Linked DNA regions of Homo sapiens: region 1 is linked to region 2. The links are contacts of gene promoters, found by promoter capture Hi-C in blood cells and fetal thymus (Javierre and others, 2016). All regions are on one chromosome and are shown on one strand. The core of a region is centred on a gene start or on the middle of the fragment in contact, and the rest is flanking DNA. Distances in the headings are between cores, read along the strand shown.

The links. Contacts are between HindIII fragments. The CHiCAGO score rates a contact against its expected background, and 5 or more counts as called.
Region 1: a fragment that was not itself captured here is called in contact with the fragment with the promoter of FANCC in region 2 in 1 of 17 cell types (endothelial precursors); the score reaches 5.0 in endothelial precursors.

The regions. Positions count from the first base shown.
Region 1 is chr9:96,206,280-96,211,984 of GRCh38, forward strand. No RefSeq gene overlaps it. Among named protein-coding and RNA genes, the nearest start is that of HSD17B3-AS1, 37 kb to the right of the region's middle. The HindIII fragment of the contact is 2,662 bases long and covers 445-3,106 here.
Region 2 is chr9:95,314,400-95,319,669 of GRCh38, forward strand. It overlaps FANCC (FA complementation group C), which reads right to left and starts at 3,310. Exons shown (of 15, transcript NM_000136.3): 1 at 3,127-3,310. RefSeq lists a silencer at 2,662-2,981. The HindIII fragment of the contact is 1,904 bases long and covers 1,966-3,869 here.

The sequences.
Region 1 (5,705 bases), core at 526-3,025, 890 kb after region 2:
TATGTGTGTCAAACAGCGAACACTCCTTCTGCCACGAGGAGGGTCTGTCACAGTTTCAGTGCCAGCCCCGGAGGCCTGGGCTGCCTCGCCGCCTCCTGAGGGCACTCTGGCTGGAGCGAGGAGGGGCTGTATGGATGCCAAGCGGCTGTTGAATAAGGAGATGTTTGCCTTGCTAGACCTCCCCATCCCATCTTTTCCTTAGACATATACCCAGATGTACCCACATGCACCCACACACATCCACAGGCATCCACACACACCCACATGCATCTATACACACCCTCACACCCACACACACCCTTTGCCTCCTCCATTCAGAACTGCCCGTGGTCTTGCCTTTTTTCCACGAATAAGCTTCAATTTCATGGCAGCAGAAAAGAAAAAAAGCACTGCTATCAAAGTCTAATGCTGTCTTTGATGTTGGTTAATAGCAATACAAACAGAAGCTTATTATAGGAAGTGATCACTCTCACCAGACTTTAACACACCTTAGACTGAAGCCTAAATGAATGAAGGGATAGAGAAGGAAGTCACCTCTGAAATACCCTGGGCTTGCAGGGTAATAGTGTGCAGACAGGTTTTGAAGTCAAAGCCTCCAGCAAGGCTTGCTGTATCGCCTCTGCAGACACTGCAGCAGGGGCCTCCTTCACAGTTTTTATTGAAAGAGATTTCAGGCCTTAATTCTTCCCTCTGGATCCTTGGTAGTTAAAGAAGTGAGGCTTCATGAGGTTAAGGGGTTGGGGGAGCCATCATGTCTCCCCTTTCCTCCCCATTAGGCCCTCCAATGCTTTGCTGAGGGACTAACCACGACACGCCGATGACAGGTCCCAGTTTGGGGAGTCCCTTGGAGTGAGTGCCACCTGTGGGTTGTGTCTTGAGGCCCTGCTAGGGAAAACCTTCCCTTAAAATCACCCAGACGTGCTGGCCTGACATTTTGTCATGGGCAAGGGCCATTCGTTTGGGGCTGCTGGTTTTAAGGACTCAGCTCCAGGAAGAGGAAAACTCCTATGGGTCAAAAGCCAAATCAAAGGCCCCCGGACACAGCCTCAGGGGGGCAATAGGGTTCAATGGTTAGAGCCAAGATCCTGGAAACAGAGGCCTAGCTGTGTGATCAGGGCAAGTTACTTCACTTTTCCTTTCTCTTTTCTATGAAATGGGCAGAGGAGAACCCACCTCCTGGGCCCAGCATGACAGAGAAACAATGGAGGGTATGCCTCACGCACATCACCAGTGCCTGGCCCTGGAAAGGGTGAGGAGAGCTCTTCCTATTCTTAGGACCGCGCCTTCAGCAGAGGGCGTGAGGAAGCTAGGAAGAAAGAAGGACACCAGGCCACAGGAAAGAGGAAAAGCAGCTTTGGCTGAGCTTGTGATTCTGGCTCTCTGTTCCCTTGCTAACCCCTCATTAGGGCAGACGCCAGAATCAAGATCATGTAGGCTGGGTGCAGGGGGTCACACCCAGCACTTTGGGATGCCAAGGTCGAGGATCACTTGAGCCCAGAATTCAAAACCAGCCTGGGCAACATAGTGATACCCTGTATCTACAAATAATAAAAATGAAAAATTAGCCTGGCGTGGTCATGTGCACCTGTAGTCCCAACTACTCAGGAGGCTGAAGTGGGAGGATGGCTTGAGCCCAGGAGGTCGAGGCTGCAGTGAACCATAATCACACCACTGCACTCCAGCCTGGGCAACAAGTGAGACCCTAACTCTAAAGAGAGAGAGAGGGAGAGCGAGAGAATGTGTAGAAAGCACATGAAGTGAGAGAACATGTAGAAGGCAGGCCTGGCACGTTATAAGGGCCCAACTACTCTTACAGAAATTGGATATTTTGTAATGCAGTGAACTGGGGGACGAGCCTGTCAACATTGGAAGTTCACGATCCAGGAGCTTCATGCATGGTCCCCATCAACCAAGACCCATGGTTTCTGCCTTCCTCTTCTTTGGGGTTACCTCCTGGAGCCTCCTACCTAGAGAGCAAGCCTTGCTTCTCCTGTTCCATTTGGAAGAGTTGACCCCCGAAACCTAGAGTTGGGGCACCCCATCTCAGTGTTACATCCACCACTTTCTCAGGGGATGGGATTCTTATGCAAAGGGCTTTTGGAGGCCTTGCCCAATAGCTCAGAATTTGGGTGTAAGCATATAATTTGTTCTTCAATTAGATATTGTCTTAGCCTGGACCAAGTGTTGGCAGGAATTGGTAGCTGGTGGCGAGGTGAGGAGAGGGCTGAGGACAGGGCAACGGGGACGTGAAGGACTCAGGCTGCCGCATGGCTAGGAGGCATTCTTGGTCCAGCTAGGACCTCCAGGACAATGTTGACTAGAATTGACCACAGCAGATATCCTTGACTTGTTTGCAACTTCAGGAGGAAAGTGTCCAATATTTCATCTTTGTATAAGGTGTCACCCACAGATCTTTCGGAGATATCCTTTAGTAGATTATGGAAGTGCCTTTCTATTTCTAATTAGTCATAAACAGGTGCTGGATTTTGTCTAATGCTTTGTTTAGAATCTATTGAGATTATCATGTGACATTTTTTCTCCTTTATTCTATTAATATGATTATTATGTTGAATTTTAAACCAGCCTTATATTCCCAGAAAAAAAAGCCACTTGTTCATGATGTATTATCTTTTTTATATATTTTTGTATTTTATTTGCTGCCTGCCTGCTCATGAGAGATGCAGGCCTATACTCCCCTTTCTTATAATGTCCTTGTCAAGTTTTGATATCAATGTTATGCTGGCCTCATAAAATGAATTGAGAAATGTTCTTTCTTTTCCTAGTCTCTGCATCTTTTCTGTACTATTGATATTATTTCCTCCCTAAATATTTAGACTACTTCTTGACATCTGTGGTTGTTTTTAAAATAAGTCCACAAATTCTTTGATACTCTTCTCTTCAAGTGGTGGAGCTTAATTCCCTTTCTTGTGCATGTAGGCTGGATTTAGGGACTTCCAGCTAATGAGTGGAATAATGGCAGGCCACATCCAAGATTAATTCATGAACTGCAGCTTCTGTCGTGGGTTCTCGTCCCCGTCTCTCTCTCCCCCATCAGTCCCCCTAGAGAATCCACTTGCCAGGCTGGGAGCTGCCAGTGAGGACCCAAAGCTTCCCAACAACCATGTGAGTGAGCCTGAAGTGGTTTCTTCAGCCCCAGGCAAGCCTTGAGGTGACTGCAGGGCGACAGCTTGACTGCAGCCTCATGGGGGGCCCTGAGCCAGAACCACCCATCTAAGCTGCTTCCAAACTCCTGACCCTCAGAAAGCAGGTGAGATGAGAACACGTGTTGCTTTTAGCTGCCATGTCTCAGGGTGATTTGTGATGCACCAACAGGTGCTGTGGCTCAGAAGTTAGCTCTGTTAAACTCACCTCTTGCTTGTTCGTAGGATACCTTTACATTCCACTGGAGCACATCCTGCATTAACTTCCTAAAAGGAGTATAAGAGTGGTAAAATCGGACAGTTCTTGCAAGTTTGAGATGCCTTCATGTTATCCTCACACTTGACTCATAGTTTGGCTGGATGTAGAAAACTGGGTGGGTCATAAGTTTTCCTGAAAAGTGTGAGGACATCACTTGACTGCCTTCCAGCTTCCAGGACACTATGGGGAAATGCAATGTCATCATGATTCTTGTTTCATTGTGTGTCATTGCTTTTTCTTCTCTTCTAGAAGCTTCTGAGATATTATTTTGAATCCCTAGAGTTATAAAGAATGAGTGTTTTTTCACTAATTATGAAATTAATGGATTCAGTGCAGAGCAGCTCCACATGGCAGGGCTTTCTGTGATGAGGGAACATTCTTCATCTGCATGCCCAATATAGCAGCCACCACCCACACGTGGCTATCACACACTGGAAATGTGGCTAGCACAACTGAGGAATGAAATTTTCATTTCATTTAATCTCAATTAATTCTCATTTCAACTTAGTTAACCATGGTAGCTAGTGGCTACCATCTTGAACAGTGCAGATCTAGATATCCTGCGTACGTTCTGATAAAGTGCCTTTTTCTTTTTTATTTCTTCTCCTTTCTCTGGCTTCATTTTTGGGTTCATCATTGTTAGATATCCTTGATTGGTCCTCTTAAGCTTCTTACATTTATGTTCTTCTTGTCCATCTCTGCCTTTTTGTTCCTCCTTTGGAACATTCCCTTTGTTTTCTACTTCAACTTGACTTTTTTTATTTTGCTTTTTTTCTTTAAGTTTCAAAAGCTCTTCTTATTGTCAGATTGTTTATTTTTAAAGGGTCTTATACTTGATATATGGATGCATTATTTTACTTTATCTCTGAGAGGTGGTTTTTTTTAAGTTTTTGTGTGTTCTATGCATTTTCTCTTTCCTCTACGATCACCTCATTCTGTCTCTGTCATGTGAGTGTTGCTCTTTAATGTCTGATAATCTGGGGCTATTTGCTCATATTTAAGACTTAAGTGTTAAAAGTCTGAATGAAAGCTTTGAGGGGTTGGCAGAGCTTCTTAGTGTGTGAGAGTCCCTTCAGAGTCCTCAGGTGACAAGCGTCCTGATGGAGGTCCCTAACAGGTCAGTGTCAGGAGGTCTCCTCTCTGGGTCCATTTCGTTTCTTAAGGGAAGCGTCCTTCAGTCCCGTGCCTGCAGGAGGGCGGGGCCACTGGTGTGTGACTGCCTTCCCATGTTCTGAGAGCAAAGAAAGGTAAGAAAGCTGGAGACCTCACCATTCAATATGAAGACGTTCCCCATATCCCCCCATTTTTAACCCTGCATCTGACCTCTCTTCTGCACTGCGCTGTCTGATGGCCCCTAGTCCAGAGCAGAAGAGCTGAATTTCTCACCAGATAACTCTCCAGCCTCCTGAGGGAAGAGGGTGGCAGTTGCCTGGGTGAATGGGCAACTTCATCCAGACCTTTATCAACCCCTTGGTTTTTGGCTTCACTGAGCATGGCACCTGGTGCCTTTGAGACCTGACAGGTTCTAGGGGATAAGGAAGCTCCTTCTCACTTGTGTCCCCTCTGCTGACATTCAAGATGGACATTTTTGGCCTGTTCTGTCCATTACTACTTCTTCAGCGTCTCTCTATCTTTCAGGGTTGTCCTACAGTCTCTCTTCTACAGCTATGTTGGCCCTTGTGGGTTTACCTTTGTATTTCCTTTATTGTCATCCTGGTGAGCTTTTGAAGGGATAGGAAACAAACCCACGTGGCCCCTCCGCATGTAAGAGGCCTTCTTTGTTTTTGAATCTGATTCGAGTTCTCCACATTGGCTTTCCTCCACCAATTAGCCCCACTTGCCTGCCTACATCTTTCCCATTCACTCAGAAGGCTTCATCTGCAGCCAGCGCCATTCTCAATCCCAGCTGCCTTCTGAAAGCTCACGTTGCTTTTCTTCCCTCAGTATCCCTCCCATTTAATTCAACCTCAAATCCCACTATCTCCATGGAGTACTCAATGACTGGTTCAGCCTATAATAAACTTTTTGTTCTCCAATTCTTTTAGCACCTATAGTTTGCACATGTACTCTAACTCTATTTATTGATTTACTTATTCCTGGATTCATTCCTTTACTTATTAGTTGGGAACTTGTCTCCAGAGCCTTTTGCTTTGTTAGGTTACATAAAATGCAGTCATATAGAGCATATTAGAATCATGTGGGAAAGAAAAGGAAAGGGCCAAGGTAAACTGGGGCCAAAAAAGGAGCCGATACAAGAGCACATGCTGTCACATACTCAGTCCTAC
Region 2 (5,270 bases), core at 2,060-4,559:
TCCCAGCACTTTGGGAGGCCGAGGCAGGCGGGTCACGAGGTCAGGAGTTTGAGACCAGCCTGACCAATATGGTGAAACCCCGTCTCTACTAAAAATACAAAAATTAGCCGGGCGTGGTGAAGGGTGCCTGTAGTCCCAGCTACTCGGGAGGCTGAGGCAGAAGAATCGCTTGAACCCGGGAGGCGGAGATTGCAGTGAGCCGAGATCGTGCCACTGCACTCCAGTCTGGGCAAACAGAGCGAGACTCTGTCTCAAAAAAAAAACAAAAAACTTGCTTTCACTTTATCGATAAAAAAAATTTTAATGAAATTTTAAAAATAATTCAATTCACAATACCATCAAAAATAAAACTTCAAAATTAATTTACAAAAGGGCAAAATTTGTACACTGAAAATTACTAAATACTGCTAAGAGAAATTAAAGCGCTCAACAAATGGAAAGAGATTCCATGTTCATGATGAGATGGCAATTCTCCCCCAAATAGATATGCAAAATTAAATGCAATTCCTACAAAGTCTATCACAGCACGGTTTTCTGAAAAAAAATAACAAACTGATACTAAAATTTATATGGAAATGTAAGGAACCCTGAACCGCCAAAACAATTTTGAAAATGAAGAAAAACATTGGATAACTTACACTACTTAATTTCAAAACTTACTATAAAGCTGCCATAATCAAGATAATGTAATGCTGACATAAAAGGCATGCAGGTCTCTTACCCTCAGTCCCGTATTAAACTTGAGTTAGAAGATGCCAATCTCAAAATGGAGGTAAAACCATTGCCTGCTAGCCCCCAGTCCAACTCTGGTGGCCAATCTGAATTGTTACCAATTTTATTTTTCCAGACACGGTCTCAGTCTGCTGCCCAGTGTGGAGTGCAGTGGCGCAATCACAGTTCACTGTGGCCTCGACCTCCTGAACTCAGGTGATCCTCCACCTCAGCCTCCCGAGTAACTGGGACCACAGCCCCGCATCACTATGGCCGGCTAATTTCTTAACTTTTTGTAGAGACAGGGCTCTCTCTGTTGCCCACGCTGGACTCGAACTCCTGGGATCAAGTGATCCTTCCGCCTCCGCTTCCCAAAGTGCTGGGATTACAGGCATAAGCCACCATGCTCTGCCTGTTATCTGAATTGCCTTTCCTTCTCCACTTCTGCATTTTTATTAAAACATTGCAAAACTTCCAAGGTGCTTCTCCTGTATGTATTTTTTCACATTAAGTCAATCACTCAAGATCCACAAACAAGACAGAGAATGCACATATCCCAGCCTAAAATAAAACTTTTAAAAATCATTTGGTGCTCATTTCCAGCCCGATTTGAGGCCCTAACACTACCAACTTGGAACTACCACTCATGTGAGTTTCCTCTGGCTCTCTCCATGGCCCAGATAATCAATCCAACTTTCTACTGGCCAGGCTGGCCTCCCTGTAGCTGGTTCTCATAAACACGAAATTTGTATAATTGTTATTGGAACTACCTGCTGAAATATGGAACTGGTTAAAAGTACCATTTGTTTTAAAATGTACATGCACAGTTGCACATACATGCAGCAACACATCTTCCACAACCAGCCAATCAATCAAGTTAATGCTTTTTATTAGAGGACAAAACAAAAAATACCAATATAGAGCCTGCTTTTCTTTTCTGATGCCTTGGTAAACGTTTTTGGAGAAATCAAGAGAAAATATGACCGAATAAAGCAAAAATAAATTCGAATGTATAATATACAAAGTATAATTAGTCCAGTTCTCAAGAAGCAGGCTCTATTACTGGGAGTAGTGGGTTGGTGAAAAAGATCTCTGATATATCTAGGAAAACAAATTCTTTTTCGATGCAGCCTTTCTTGTATATGAATAATGTATATGAGTGCTTATTTCCAGGTGACTCTGGTACAGCACATAACATTGAAACATCAATTCAAGTTTAATGTATAAAGTCGCAATGAACATGTTTTCCATCTAAGCTTAGGTAATGAATGATCTCAACACATGGTATGAATTCTACTGTTTGTAACAACCTTTCAGGGGAGTAAGGAGAAAACGATCTGTCTGAGGGCATATCACTGACAGTGAGTGACAGCCACAAAGAGCTGAAGTTGGGTGGCCCAAAAGTGCTCTGCTCATTTGATAAATGCTAAGTCAAATCACATCACAGTTTAGATGCATTAAATGGGGCACAAGTTAGAATAAAATCAGATGCCCGGGAGTTTTCCAAGTTTCAGATTAGAACAAAAGTCCAGGCACATACAGGACTTTGCTAGAAAACTCCTTGGTCTCTTCCCTTAAGATTCTGGTACCCAATTTCCCATGTTATAAAACTCCAAGTCTTTTCCCCCATTCGGTGCGCTGGACACATAAGATCATAGAGGGTTCGTAGTTGTAAACGCACCCACCTAAAAAATTAAAAAGAGCAAACCAACAAACAGCACCTGAAAAATCTCTCACGGGCTTTGAAGATATGGCCTGGCGTCCACAAAAAGAATGGAGGGAAGACACTGGCCTCTGCGAACCCGCCTCCCTCCGGGAATAAAAGGCGGAGGGCGGGAGGGGTAACAGCCGCGCCCCGGGCTCCTCTAATTGGACCTCGCCCCTCCTGGCGCCCCGGCGAATGGGGTTTGGGGGCAGGGGTGTGAGGGACGGGGAGGACGAGGCCAGCTGTAGAGGGCGACCGGCTCAAAGGGGCGAGCTTTTCACGGCTCCCACGAGTCCGAGGCAGAGAAATTCACCTTTGCTCCTCTCCTTTGAAGAAGACATAGCTGCCTGCGCTCAATGAACAAAAAGAACCAAAACGCCAACACCCGGCTCCCGCCTCTCCGGGGGCTCCCTTCCGCGCGACCCCAGCGCCGGCTCCCGCCCCCGCTTTCCCCGCCCTGGCCCCGCCCCGCGGGCTGGCACCGCCCGCCACCTTCCGCCTCCCGCCTCCCGCCTCCCGCCTCAGCCTTAGCCACAGCCCTGCGCCGGCGGGAACCCCTCTCGCCCACCGCAAGGCGCGCCTGGCCCACCCGCTCTCGCGAGCCTTCCCTCTTGCCCCTCGCCTCCTCCTCCCGCTCTCGCCGCTGACGTGTCGGCCAGACCCCCGAGGGAAGCCTCCGCCCTCGCTGCGTTCTGCGGCCTGCCGCTTACCGGGTGGTCCTCGCGGGAGCTGCTTCAGCAGTTTGGGCAGTGGCGGAAAGGAAGCCACCGCCCGGGATCTGTGGCTTGAAAATTTGGCTTTGCCTCGTATTGGCTTTTTGAGTTTTTTTGGAATTTTCCCGCGGTCGCCCGGCAGTGGAGCCGCGCGCGCGCACACGTGTCAGCAGTGCATTCTGGGGCCTGGCTAGCGGCCCCGCGCGCTCCCGCGGCGTCGCGGGAAAATTCCGACGAATCTCGGGTCCGTGGGGCGGGGCGGGCGCGGCCAGGGCTCTGGCGGAAGTGGGCCCGGCTGGGGCGGGTTCTAGGCGAGCGGAGTCGGTACTGCTCCAGTGTTCCCGGTTTCGCGCGGAAGCCCCGGCGGGAGCAGGGTTGCAGCAGCGCCCGCGGAGAAGGGGCGCTGGCTTCTTCCATATTCTGTTCAAAATGTAGGGGAGGTAAAATGGAAATTAGTTCTTTTGAAGAAAAGTTGAGGCTTTGTCAACGGGGTAAAACCTCTAAAATAAGATTTTCTAACTGCGTTCTAAACAATAGCAACAAAAAAGGCATCTTCAGTTAATGATTTCCCCTACCGTACATTAGTTCCATACAGTGTTTGGTCGGGGTTCAAATCAGTTCAACGCTGTACATAAACCACCCAAACAAATATTAATAAAATTTTCTCCAAACTCCCATTTATGACAATGGCATTAGCTTGTCTTGGTGAATTTTTTTTTCTTCTAGGATCTGACGACTTAAGCTTTAAAATGTCTTAAATCAATGCCTCACAACCATAAATCATAATCATAAAACTACAGCTTAGGTCGGGCGCTGTGTCTCAGGCCTGTAATCCCAGCACTTTGGAAGGCCAAGGCGGGCGGATCACGAGGTCAGAAGATCGAGACCATTCTGGCCAACATGGTGAAACGCCGTCTCTACTAAAAATACAAAACGTTTAACCGGGCGCGGTGGCGGGCGCCTGTAATCTCAGCTACTCTGGAGGCTGAGGCAGAATAGCTTGAACCAGGGAGTCAGAGGTTGCAGTGAGCCGAGATCGCGCCACTGCACTCCAGCCTGGCGACAGAGGGAGACTCCGTCTCAAAAAAAAAAAAAAAAAAGCTACAACTTCACATATACGTTCAAAAACACACTACAGGCCGGGCGCGGTGGCTCACACCTCTAATCCCAGCACTTTGGGAAGCTGAGGCGGGTGGATCACCTGAGGTCAAGAGTTTGAGACCAGCCTGGCCAACATGGCAAAAACCCGTCTCTACTAAAAATACAAAAATTAGTGTGTACTCCCGGCTACTTAGGAGGCTGAGGCAGGAGAATTGCTTGAACCCAGGAGGCGAAGGTTGCAGTAAGCCAAGATCGCACTACTGCACTCCAGCCTGGGCAACAGAGCGAGACTCTGTCTCAACAAAAAACACCACAAAGCTGTGTGTGCTTGTAATAAAAATAGCTCTCAAGTATTTAAACATGTCCAACTATTCCTATGGTGAAGAAATACCCGTTTTACCAATGAATACTTTCAATTCAGAGACTAATTTGCAGAGGTTATACATTTATAAGTGATACAATAAGTATATAGCATAGCAATAGCAACAATCTGTTTAAGAATTAAAGGTAGTTAAAAAAAGGAACCGATCCAGAGGTTGAGACAAAACTGGCAGAATCTGCAACTACATTAAGGAATTCGGTGTTTACATCCATTCTCGAAACTATTCCATGCCAGTTAAGGAAGTCGGTGCTTTTTGATTGTTTTTTAATTTTAGATTCGGGGGTACATGTGCTTGCTTGTTACATAGGTATATTGTGTAATGGTGGGGATTGGGCTTCTGGTGTACCTGTCCCCCAAACATTGAACATTGTACCCAATAGCTAATTTTTCAGCCCTCACCCCCTTCCCACCCTCTCCCTTTTTGGAGTCCCCAGTGTCTTGTTATTCCCATTCTTATGTACATGTATACCTATTGTTTAGCTCCCGCTTATGAGAACATGCAATATTTGATTTTCTGTTTCTGAGTTTGTTCACTTAGGATAATGTCCTCCAGCTCCATCCATGTTGCTGCAAAGGACATGATTTCGTTCTGTTTTACAGCAGAGAGGTCGATGTGTTTTTGATGTGTGCATAGTGTGACATGGATAAATCAAAAGCA